Linked DNA regions of Homo sapiens: all the other regions are linked to region 1. The links are contacts of gene promoters, found by promoter capture Hi-C in human tissues and cell types (Jung and others, 2019). All regions are on one chromosome and are shown on one strand. The core of a region is centred on a gene start or on the middle of the fragment in contact, and the rest is flanking DNA. Distances in the headings are between cores, read along the strand shown. Region 1 holds the start of KCNA4 (potassium voltage-gated channel subfamily A member 4). Region 2 overlaps LINC02755 (long intergenic non-protein coding RNA 2755). Region 3 overlaps LINC02755 (long intergenic non-protein coding RNA 2755).

Region 1 (3,247 bases), core at 280-2,779:
CCCTCTTTCTGCTCTACACCAAATAATTTCACATTTATTTATTTATTTGGGATTGTTAGTTTTTGTTTATCTAACTCCCTCCTCCACCCTACAAGTAGCAAATTGCCTTCCTTTTAATCATCTACTAGTTACTTCACTATCCCTGATCTAGAAAGAAAGGGAGAGAGAAAGAAAAGAAGAGAAAAGAAAAATCATTCCTCCCAGCAAATCAGACTGGTTTAAAATCTCTCTTCTTTCTCAAGGTACTCTTGTTAGGAGAATCTATTCAAGCCAATTCCCAGGAGCCTTTATGAGAGAGATCTTTGCAGAGGAATTTGTCTTCTTCTTTAACACCATTAAACTAATAGGATTTTGCAGACTACCTATTCCCCAATCCCGGCGCCCCCAAACAACAGCCAAGCATCCCGCCCCTCCTCCTCTCACCCCTCCAACAACAAGGCTGTTCGTCTCTCAGTGCTAATTCCTGCAACTGTGTCACTGTCAGGGTGGTACCTGAACCTTAGAGAGAGAGAGAGAGAGAAAGAGAGAGAAACTGAGAGAGGGAATCAGAAAAGCCACCACCGTGAGAAATATACACTTCAACGCACGCCATTTATGCAGCCCCTATGTATGTTGCTCAAATGCTCGGAAAATGCACGCAAATCCAAACGTTGGAAGAGGCAGCAATTCAGACCCGTTCACCGGCTGTTCCCAAAAGAAGGGAACCGGTGCGGCTGGGAGGAGGCGAAACGATGCTAAATCTTAACCCCCCTCTCGTTGGGAAACGACATCTTTAATCGCGCCCTCGCCTCCAGACCTCGGTTCCCGCTCCAGCACGTTAAGCAGGGCGCACTCACCGCATCCCCGGGTTTGGGAAAATAACAACTGTTGGCCCCCCGGAGCGCCGCGCAGCATCCGCACCTCCCTTCTCCCACCTCCTGGTTTATTTTTAACCGCCTTCCATTCATGCCCTTCTGTCACATTCCCGATATTATTTATCCCTCAAATGTCCACTGTTTCTTAACAGCCAAAATAAGAAGGTAGAGGAAAGATACAAAAAAAAAAAAAAAAAAAAAAAGGTATCATACTTACCGTTCCCCGGCGGGGCGAAAAATAAAAATAAAGAAAATCCACCGGCTGGCTTGTTTTTCCCCCTCAAGCTGCAACAGCTGGAGGAGGGGAAGAATGATCCTGGGTGGGGGGCGGGGGGTGGTAAAAGGAATCACTCGGGTTTGGCAGGTGGAGGCTCCAAATATCCACGGAACAAGTTCTGTTGCCTGGCCCGAGGGGTGCACAGAGTCCTCGCGGCTGGAGCCTGGGGGTGGGGGTTGGGGCTGCCCCAGAGAAGACCCCAAGACTCCTGGTTCCTCTGGAGTTCAGCACAGGAGGGATTGCCTGGGAAAGGAAGTCAAGGTTCCCCCGAAAAGAAACAAAATCCTAGACAGCAGCGATCACTTGTTAAGCCCGAATTCCTCCTCCAACATCCATCCCTCTCTCGCTCTCGCTGGCTGCGGGAGCAGCACACGCCTCCCCTGGCCGCGAACGCGCTCTGGGCGGGGGCGGGGCCAGGGCCGAACCGAGGGTGTGGCGTTCGCGACGGTCGCCAGGGGCGCCTCCCGGCGCGGCGGGGCGGGTGCAGTCACGACGCCGCGACTCCCCGCACCCCGGCTGGGCCCCCCGACTCCCAGGATCTGGGATCGATTCCAGGAGTCTTTGGCTGTGGTCCCCACAGGCGAGGAGCAAATCCTGGAGAAGTGTCCCCGTTGGGGCCGGAATAGGGGTTTCGACGGCAGCGCGGGAGTCCCCAGAGGGCTTGGGAGCGGGGAGCTCCAATGGGAGGTGCAGTCCCGAAAATGGGGTCCTCTGGGACATCTCCTCTACCTAACTTGCTTTCTCTATATCTCCCCTCGAGCCCCGAGCCCCGTCTTCTTTTCCCCACCCCATCCCCTCCCAAAGCGGGTTTGTTGGGTTGGGAGCCGGGTGCATCTCCGGCGAGGCCACGGGCGGGGAGCCCTCCTGTGCCTGCCAGAGCGCCCAGATCCCTCAGTCTCCGTCTCCTTTGCACACAGGAGTTGGGAGGCTTCAGCGCCGGGGTTGGGCCTCAGGGGCGCGGAGGAGACCGACTTTCAACCTGTATTCAATCCCGGGCAGGGGAATGTTACAGAAATTGGAATCAGGCCCAGGCTAGGGGCTGCGCACAGGAGGCAGCAGTTCTAGGGGAGGAGGGTTGGAGAGATGAGTAAGTTGCAGGGTGGGCCAGGGGCTGAGGGCTTTGGAAGGCGGGGGAAGAGCCCGCAGCCAACCTGTTGCTGCAAAAACAAATACGGCTCTGGTATCGACTCCCTGAGGGCTCTTTGGATCCTTCAGGACAGAAATCAAGGGATATCGCAGCAAAAAGCAAGTTTTTTTGGTTTTCTTTCTTTCTTTCTTTTAATTAAAGCTTGTGCGCACAAGGGAGCTAACACCAAGAAAAAAAAAAGTGGGCTGTTCCTCGAAGTCAGGGTGTGGGTTTCTTTTACGGGCCTCTCCCGTAAGGGGAAATAAGGAGAACTATAGACAGGGCATGTAGAGGTGGAGTTTTTCTGGTGCATGCATGGTGGTTTAACATGCTTCTTCATAGGACGTATGTATCATTAGCATCTTAAATCTCCACCTCTGGGAAAGATTTTTTGCATTAAATTAAGGAAAAGGTCACTATGAGTTGAAAGTTAAACCTAGCCGCCGCGCATGCCAGGGCCTCGGGCAAGTCCCTGGTCCCCTAAAGCCGAAACTTCTGGTTAATAGCTTCTTGAGCTTTTCATGCTAATTGGCTGGAGTTACAGTTTGAGGAAGGGTCTCTCCTTGTTTCTTGTTTATTTCTTCGGACCACATCAAAACAGGAAAGTAGACAGTTTGCCTGTCTCAGGCTTGCCAGAATCAACCGGGCGAGAGGTTTGGCTCCCGGGAGGACTCTATCTTAGTGATCTCTCCCACTGCCCACCTCCATTTAAAAAAAAAAAAAAAAAAAAAAGGGTTTTGCTGTCCATCTCCACCCCACTCCCACACACGCGAGCGCGTGCGCACACACACAAACAAACACACACACACACACACACACACACACAAATAACCAGAAGCCCACGTGGCGACGGGGTCTCCCTAGACACCTCTCCCAGCTCGCCCGATGGACCAAGCAGGCAGTGGCAGCGCTATGCCCCGGACTGCTGGAGCAAATCCGACCTTGGGCTGGTTGGTTGGCGCCAGGACTGTCACTGTCGTCCTCGGGGCG
Region 2 (3,247 bases), core at 1-2,500, 560 kb before region 1:
TCAACATATCTTCAATCCATAGTAATATGGTTTATGCCCTTTTTGTTCATCTAATGCATGCATAACCTCTTCTCAGAATGTTAAGGCATAGTACATAATAAGTGGCTACTTGCTCTCTCTCTTTCTATAAATAGTAAGAGAGAGAGAGAGAGAGAGAGTGTGTGTGTGTGTGTGTGTTTAACAAAAAGTTCAACATTTGAGAGAGGACTGTATGAGTTCCAATTGCTATGTTAATGCCCAGGGAGTTGGGATGAGAGAGGAATGGCTGGAAGGAATACAAAAACAAATCTATGGTAAATCCCTACTGTGAAGGAAAGTTAAGAGAGATAGATTGTATTTCTTACAACTAGAAGAGGTGGGCATGTGGAATAAACTTGGGTTTAACTTTAAACTGATATTGTAATCTGTTTGGTGAGATAAAGCTTCAAAAAGAGAAAGAGGCAGCAGCAATCTTGCCATTGTCTCAGGAGTAAGAATATGCATTCATGTTTTCTCTTTGTCTTTCCTCACCCTCTTCTATTTTTCCTTTTCCTTTTGTCTTTTTCCCAATTTCCCTAGAACCGTAACTAAAATAAAGTATTTTATCTACCTACCTGTCTCTTCTTTGCAGGAAAACATTTCCATCTGGCTTTCCTCTGTCTGACTTAAACAATGATTTTCCATCCTACCTGAACATTATAATCATCTGGAAGAGTTTTTTAAAATACAGATGCTATTGCTACACCCATGGAGCTTGTGTCTTACCATCTGATATGGTTTGGCTGTGTCCGCACTCAACTCTCATCATGAATTGTAGTTCCCGTAATCCCCATGTGTCATGGGAGAGGCCTAGTGGAAGGTAATTGAATTATGGGGAAGGTTACCTCCATGCTGCTGTTCTCATGATAGTGAGTGAGTTCTCAAGGGATCTGACGGTTTTATAAGGGGCTTTTCCCTCTTTGCTCTGCACTTCTGCCTGCTCCCACCACATAAAGAAAGATATCTTTGCTTCCCCTTCCGCCATGAGTGTAAGTTTCCTGAGGCCTCCCCCGCCATGCTGAACTGTGAGTCAGTTAAACTCTTTCCTTTATAAATTACCTAGTCTATGGTATGTCTTTATTAGCAGCATAAGAATGGACTAATACAGCATCTGTGATTCTATTCCAGTTTAGGATGAGATCCCCTGGTCTCTAAGATGCTTCAAGATAGCAGATCCAGCATTAACTCCTTCAAGTGTGAAATCCTGACAGCTAAATAGTTTCTTTCGTAAACATATCTTAAGCATTTAGTGGCCTCCTTGTCCTTCAAGACTGTGTTAAGTGTTTCTTTTCATACAATATGTTAGCCTTGTATTATATAACCTGGACAGTTTAATTCAACTCTAGTCGACTTTCTCCCTACCCCCACCTTTACTTTTATCTCTGTCTCACTTAGACTGACCCCATTGAGGATGGGGGCTGTTGCCTTTATCTCTGTGTCCCATTTATCTACTACAGGGCTCAGCACACAGTATGCCTTTAATGCATTTAGTAAAATAATGACTTACTTCTCTAGTTTGAGTTTTCAGAAAAAGGAAATTTCTCCTACTCTCAATATCTCATATTGGCCTGAGCCCTCAACCAATTGAAAGCAAACAACAGCTAAATTTCTCACTACATCTCCCATGCTAACTTAAAAAAAATTTCCTTTGATCTCAGCTGCTGATGGAGAGACTATGAAGTAACAGAAGTTTCTCTCTTCTTTAGCGAAAAATAATATGGTACTAATGCCCAGGAGGGATCTAAGGTTCTATTTTTATCCCTTCTCTGAATTATCAATTTACTGCTAGGCTTTGTTTTGAATCTCAGGGCTCTGACAGAGCAGGCTCTATCTTTCAGAGCTGACTGTTCTGCAAGATTATTTTAAAAGTAGCTTTATTAAAATAAACACATTTAAAATCAAAACAACTCTGGTGCTTCTAGAGATATTTCCTAGAAAGGAGTGTGAAAAACAAGTCAACTGCTGAAGGACCATTTTATTACTTCTAACTACAAGTAGTTTTTTCCATGCTATAGTGACTTTTTTGAGCAGAGAAGCAGGGCTTATTTAAATAATTATTCAGGCTTTCCAGGTACCATGGCGTCTTGCTCTTTTGCTTTCTGACCTGATGCCTTCGGTGTCCTTCTCAAAAGGCTCTCAGATCACCTTCAGTTGTTCTAGACCTTGTACTGCAGAGTTGCTTGACTTTGAATTTTCCATAAAATTGCATTTAAATATAAGAAACCTTCAAAATATTTTTATTGAATTTATAATTTGGAAATAAAAGCCTAAGATGAAGGGAGGCATTGTGATGCAAAAGGAAAAGGCATAGATTTGAGCATCAAAGGACCTAAGTCCCTGCACGACATTAATTGTATGACTTTTGGAAGGTCATTTTACCTCTTTGAATTTCATCTCTTTCATCTGCAAAATGAAAGTACTGAGCACATAGCTTATACATACGTTTGAGGGTTAAAGAGGACCAGCTATAAAGTACTAGACACATTGCAGTAAGTGTTCAGTGAAACAGGATTCACTCCACTGCCCGTGATTGTCCTTTTCTTCATATTTCAATTAAAATAACCACTGTAACAATCTTTTCTCTGTCAAATCATTAGCCTGATGAACTAATCCTCATCCTCCATTGCATCTATATTCTGGTTGTAATTGCTGTGAAAAACAACTCATGTAAATGACACAAAGACCCAGCTAATGAGGAAAGGCCAAATATTAATTCACAAATACATTCTGAAAAATGTCATTTTTACTTTAATATATTTTTGATGTATCTCCCATATGCCTGGGTTTATGCTTATTTCTATTAACTCTTATGTCCTCTCCTCAAAATACTGGCATTCTTGTAGGTTAGTCATTACCATGAAAAGTTCCTGTATGAAATTGACATTCATGTATACCATGAATGAAGCATAGATAAAGACTAGTCATTCAAAAGAAAAAAAAAGAGAGAGACATTTATTTCCTTTATGAGGGAACAGTAAAGGATTCTGGAAGTAAGTAGAATATTAGCAATGGCAAAAAAAGTTAATAGAATTTGGAAATGGAGAAACTAGAAAGGAAAGCATCATCCATGATAATAGTAACATGAACAGAAACATTCAAGGGCCAGCAATGGGTGCATTTGGAGAAGTGAGAATTCAGTTTTGTTGGAACAAATAGTTCACAAAAAGAGAAAGATTAGTTTTATATGTGTATTGCAACTTTAGAGCACTATGATAATGCAACTTAAAAT
Region 3 (3,247 bases), core at 465-2,964, 530 kb before region 1:
GTAGATATTCCTGTCTGATTTTTTCTTATAGATAATCCTGTTTCTAATTTCAAGAAACCAATTTCTTCATTAAGGAATTTCCATGGCAAAATAACAATTGTTCTTCAAAAACACCTGCATCACTTATTGTAAGTGTAACTAGCATACTCATAATGTGTCACACAAAAACACCAAAACATTTTAATTTAAAAAATAGTCAAAAAGTTCACTTCAATCTCCTTGCTAGCAGGTATTATTTTCACAAAACATTGTAATCGTGTAAGCTTTCAGGTTTGAATGTCAAGGTTTAGGGCCAATCTTTGAAATCTCATACCCATAAATTTTGAGATATATACAAAAAATTTCCTCCAGTCTAACATGAGATATCAGTGGCCTTGATAGCATGTCTTGCCTTGGTCTTATCAGCAACTGGAAGTTGAATGTGTTGCAACTTTGAAGAATTTCCATGAGGCCATGGAAAACAATGTTAATTATATTTATAACGATCTCTTCTTGACTCTATACTAATCAGTTCTTACTCTCTGAGTCAGTGAGTTGTACTTGCCAATGTTATTCTTGTCCTTGCCTACGTCAGTGTGCCAGGTATTGACATTCAAAGTGAGTTTTTCTAATGTATGTATAATTGCTAAATAATTATTTAATTCTCTCATCTATCTTCTGTCTCTGTCTGTCTCTCTCTCTCTCACTTTTTACACTAAAAGCAAAATAAAACCTATTTAGTAGGTAAATCTGTGTGTGAATATATAGATAATAAATGTCCTAGATGAAATTGCCAACAGATTTGGAAGGCATGTTAATGTAAATATTTTTTAAATGTACCTATAAGCCTGTCAAAATCTAAAAACAGGTCTGTATAGGACTGTACATGTTGAATAAATATTTTTATCTGTTGATTTTTAAAAGAAAAGTACAATGATCAACTTAATCATCATCCTAATCACCCTATATATGATTTGTTAAATGCTTACCAAGCATCAGATAATGTGTGGGGGACTTTTCTAGCAGTATTAGTTTCCTAGGGCTGCTGTAACAAATAACCAAAAAACTTCGTTGCATAAAACAACAGAAATGTATTCACTCATAGTTCTGGTGGCCAAAAGTTCAAAATCAAGGTATCAGCAGGGTTACACTTCCTCCTGAGGATATACGGAAGATTCTGTTCCTTTCTTTGTCCAGCTTCTGGTGGTTGCAAATTTCCTTAGGATTGTGGCCACATGTTTTCAATCTCTGCTTCCATGGTCACTTACCCTGTTTGTTTGGACAGTCTCACTCTGTCGCCCAGGGCTTGAGTGCAGTGGCATGATCTCAGCTCACTGCAATCTCCACCTTCTGGGTTCAAGCAATTCTCCTGCTCAGCCTTCTGAGTATCTGGGATCGCAGTTGTGCACCACCACGCCCAGGTAATTTCTTGCATTTTTAGTACAGACAAGGTTTCCTTATGTTGGCCAGGCTGGTCTCGAACTCCTGACCTCAAGTGATCCGCCCGTCTCGGCCTCCCAAAGTGCTGGGATTACAGGTGTGAGCCACTGCACCTGGCCTATTTATCCTCATCTGCCACTGTGCCGTGTTTCTTGTAAGAGCAATTGTCACCAGATTTAGAACCCGCTGCAATAATCCAGATGATCTCAATTTCCTTACTTAATTAAATCTGTAAAGATCCTTTTTCTAAGTAAGGTAACATTCACAGGTACTGGAGGTTAAAATGTGGACATATCTTTTTGGGAGTCACTATTCAACCCGTTCCTCTAACTGTCTCTAATTGTCATAAACATAGAGATAAATTGAGAGTGAGAGAGGTTAGCAATTTTCCTAAAGTTGCACAGATTAGGAGTGGTAGGACTAGGATCTTAAATAGAAGCAGAACTCATCCCGTTGAATTTTAATTGTTCATTCTTCCATTTATATCCCTGCCTAGGTCCAGGTATCTTGGTGGTTGAGACTTATGACGTATCCCTAATGTCATGCTTTGGCCTTTGATACAGGCTAGGCACTAAATAACCAATTGTTGAATAAATTGAATACATGATTTCTCACCAGCAAGTCCGTTACTGATAAACAGCCAAGGCCAATATCCATTGAAAATGAAAATGTATCTGTTATTTTGCAGCAATTTTATCTAAATGTTATCAAAATTCAGTAGCGAATGTTTATCTCTTTCCAGAGTTTAGTATGAAAATTCTTTAGACTTATTTACTCAGAAACTAAGCTCTGTGATGTAAATATAGAAGTAGCAATTGGCCACATACTATCTCCTTCTTCCCTTTTGTTATTATGTATATTTATTTACATAATAAAGAAATATATGTATATATACATACATATGTATATATACACATATGTGTGTGTGTATGTGTGTGTGTGTGTGTATGTCAGGAGTAACTAAAAGAGGAAAAATACCTAGATAAATCACCAGTTTATTTGGTTTTTAAGCACAACCACTGCCACATATTGGCTGGTGTGTGAGTTTTATTGAGCAATGAGATCCAATTTGTTGCCTAGTTATTGCTGGTGACTGAATATAGGTCTTCTTTTTCTAGAAAAATTGAGTGGTAACTGAAGATGGCAAAACACCGCATCAGAACGACTCAGTCACAGTGGCAATTGTTTTGTGAGTGAATCATTCAGCCTTTCTTTCTCTCCTTAAGGAAATTTTAGTAGCTAATTTCAATAAGCAACTAAAATTTTGGTAACATACAGGCCCAGGATTGAGAATTATAAAACAGGATGTATATGAAAAATAATGTTTTTAAAGTTACTCTTTCTCTCTCTCTACACACACACACACACTCTCTCACACTCATATTTTCTGAGCTATTTCCTCTTTTTGGTCACTCATTCATTAACCATTCTTATGCCAGAAGTATCTACCTTCCAGATGAATCTTCAAGTTTTATGATAGACCTCTTATTCAATTTAGATGTCCTTTCCTCTCCAAGTGCCCCAAGATTAGGATTTCTTATCTACTCTCTAAACATTCCTGAGTCTGGCAAGGAAGCTTCAGGCATGGTAAGGAGAATGACAACCAAATTTCTGTTGTAGGTCACTAAAAAAAGTTGATGCCAGACTTGTGGATGTGAGGATGCATGCAGTGGTTTGAAAGAGCAGAATTCAAGGACACTAAAGAGTTATGATTGAAATATAATTGATTTGAGGTATGCCACTGAGGCACCCAGTCCGATATACATTCAACCACAAGAAATTAAACCTTCTCTGTATATCTGATGTTCAATTTCCTTATTTCTAAAAT

Evidence for each region. Contacts are between HindIII fragments. The study calls those that stand out against the background at their distance.
Region 2: a fragment that was not itself captured here is called in contact with the fragment with the promoter of KCNA4 in region 1 in 2 of the 25 tissues and cell types used here (H1 embryonic stem cells and dorsolateral prefrontal cortex).
Region 3: a fragment that was not itself captured here is called in contact with the fragment with the promoter of KCNA4 in region 1 in 4 of the 25 tissues and cell types used here (bladder, dorsolateral prefrontal cortex, heart right ventricle and 1 more).

The regions. Positions count from the first base shown.
Region 1 is chr11:30,015,501-30,018,747 of GRCh38, forward strand. It overlaps KCNA4 (potassium voltage-gated channel subfamily A member 4), which reads right to left and starts at 1,530. Exons shown (of 2, transcript NM_002233.4): 1 at 1,072-1,530. The HindIII fragment of the contact is 10,149 bases long and covers 1-3,197 here.
Region 2 is chr11:29,456,701-29,459,947 of GRCh38, forward strand. All of the region lies in intron 2 of LINC02755 (long intergenic non-protein coding RNA 2755), which reads right to left. Among named protein-coding and RNA genes, the nearest start is that of LINC02755, 140 kb to the right of the region's middle. The HindIII fragment of the contact is 4,337 bases long and covers 1-3,247 here.
Region 3 is chr11:29,481,455-29,484,701 of GRCh38, forward strand. The region is part of intron 2 of LINC02755 (long intergenic non-protein coding RNA 2755); the gene reads right to left. Among named protein-coding and RNA genes, the nearest start is that of LINC02755, 110 kb to the right of the region's middle. The HindIII fragment of the contact is 5,756 bases long and covers 1-3,247 here.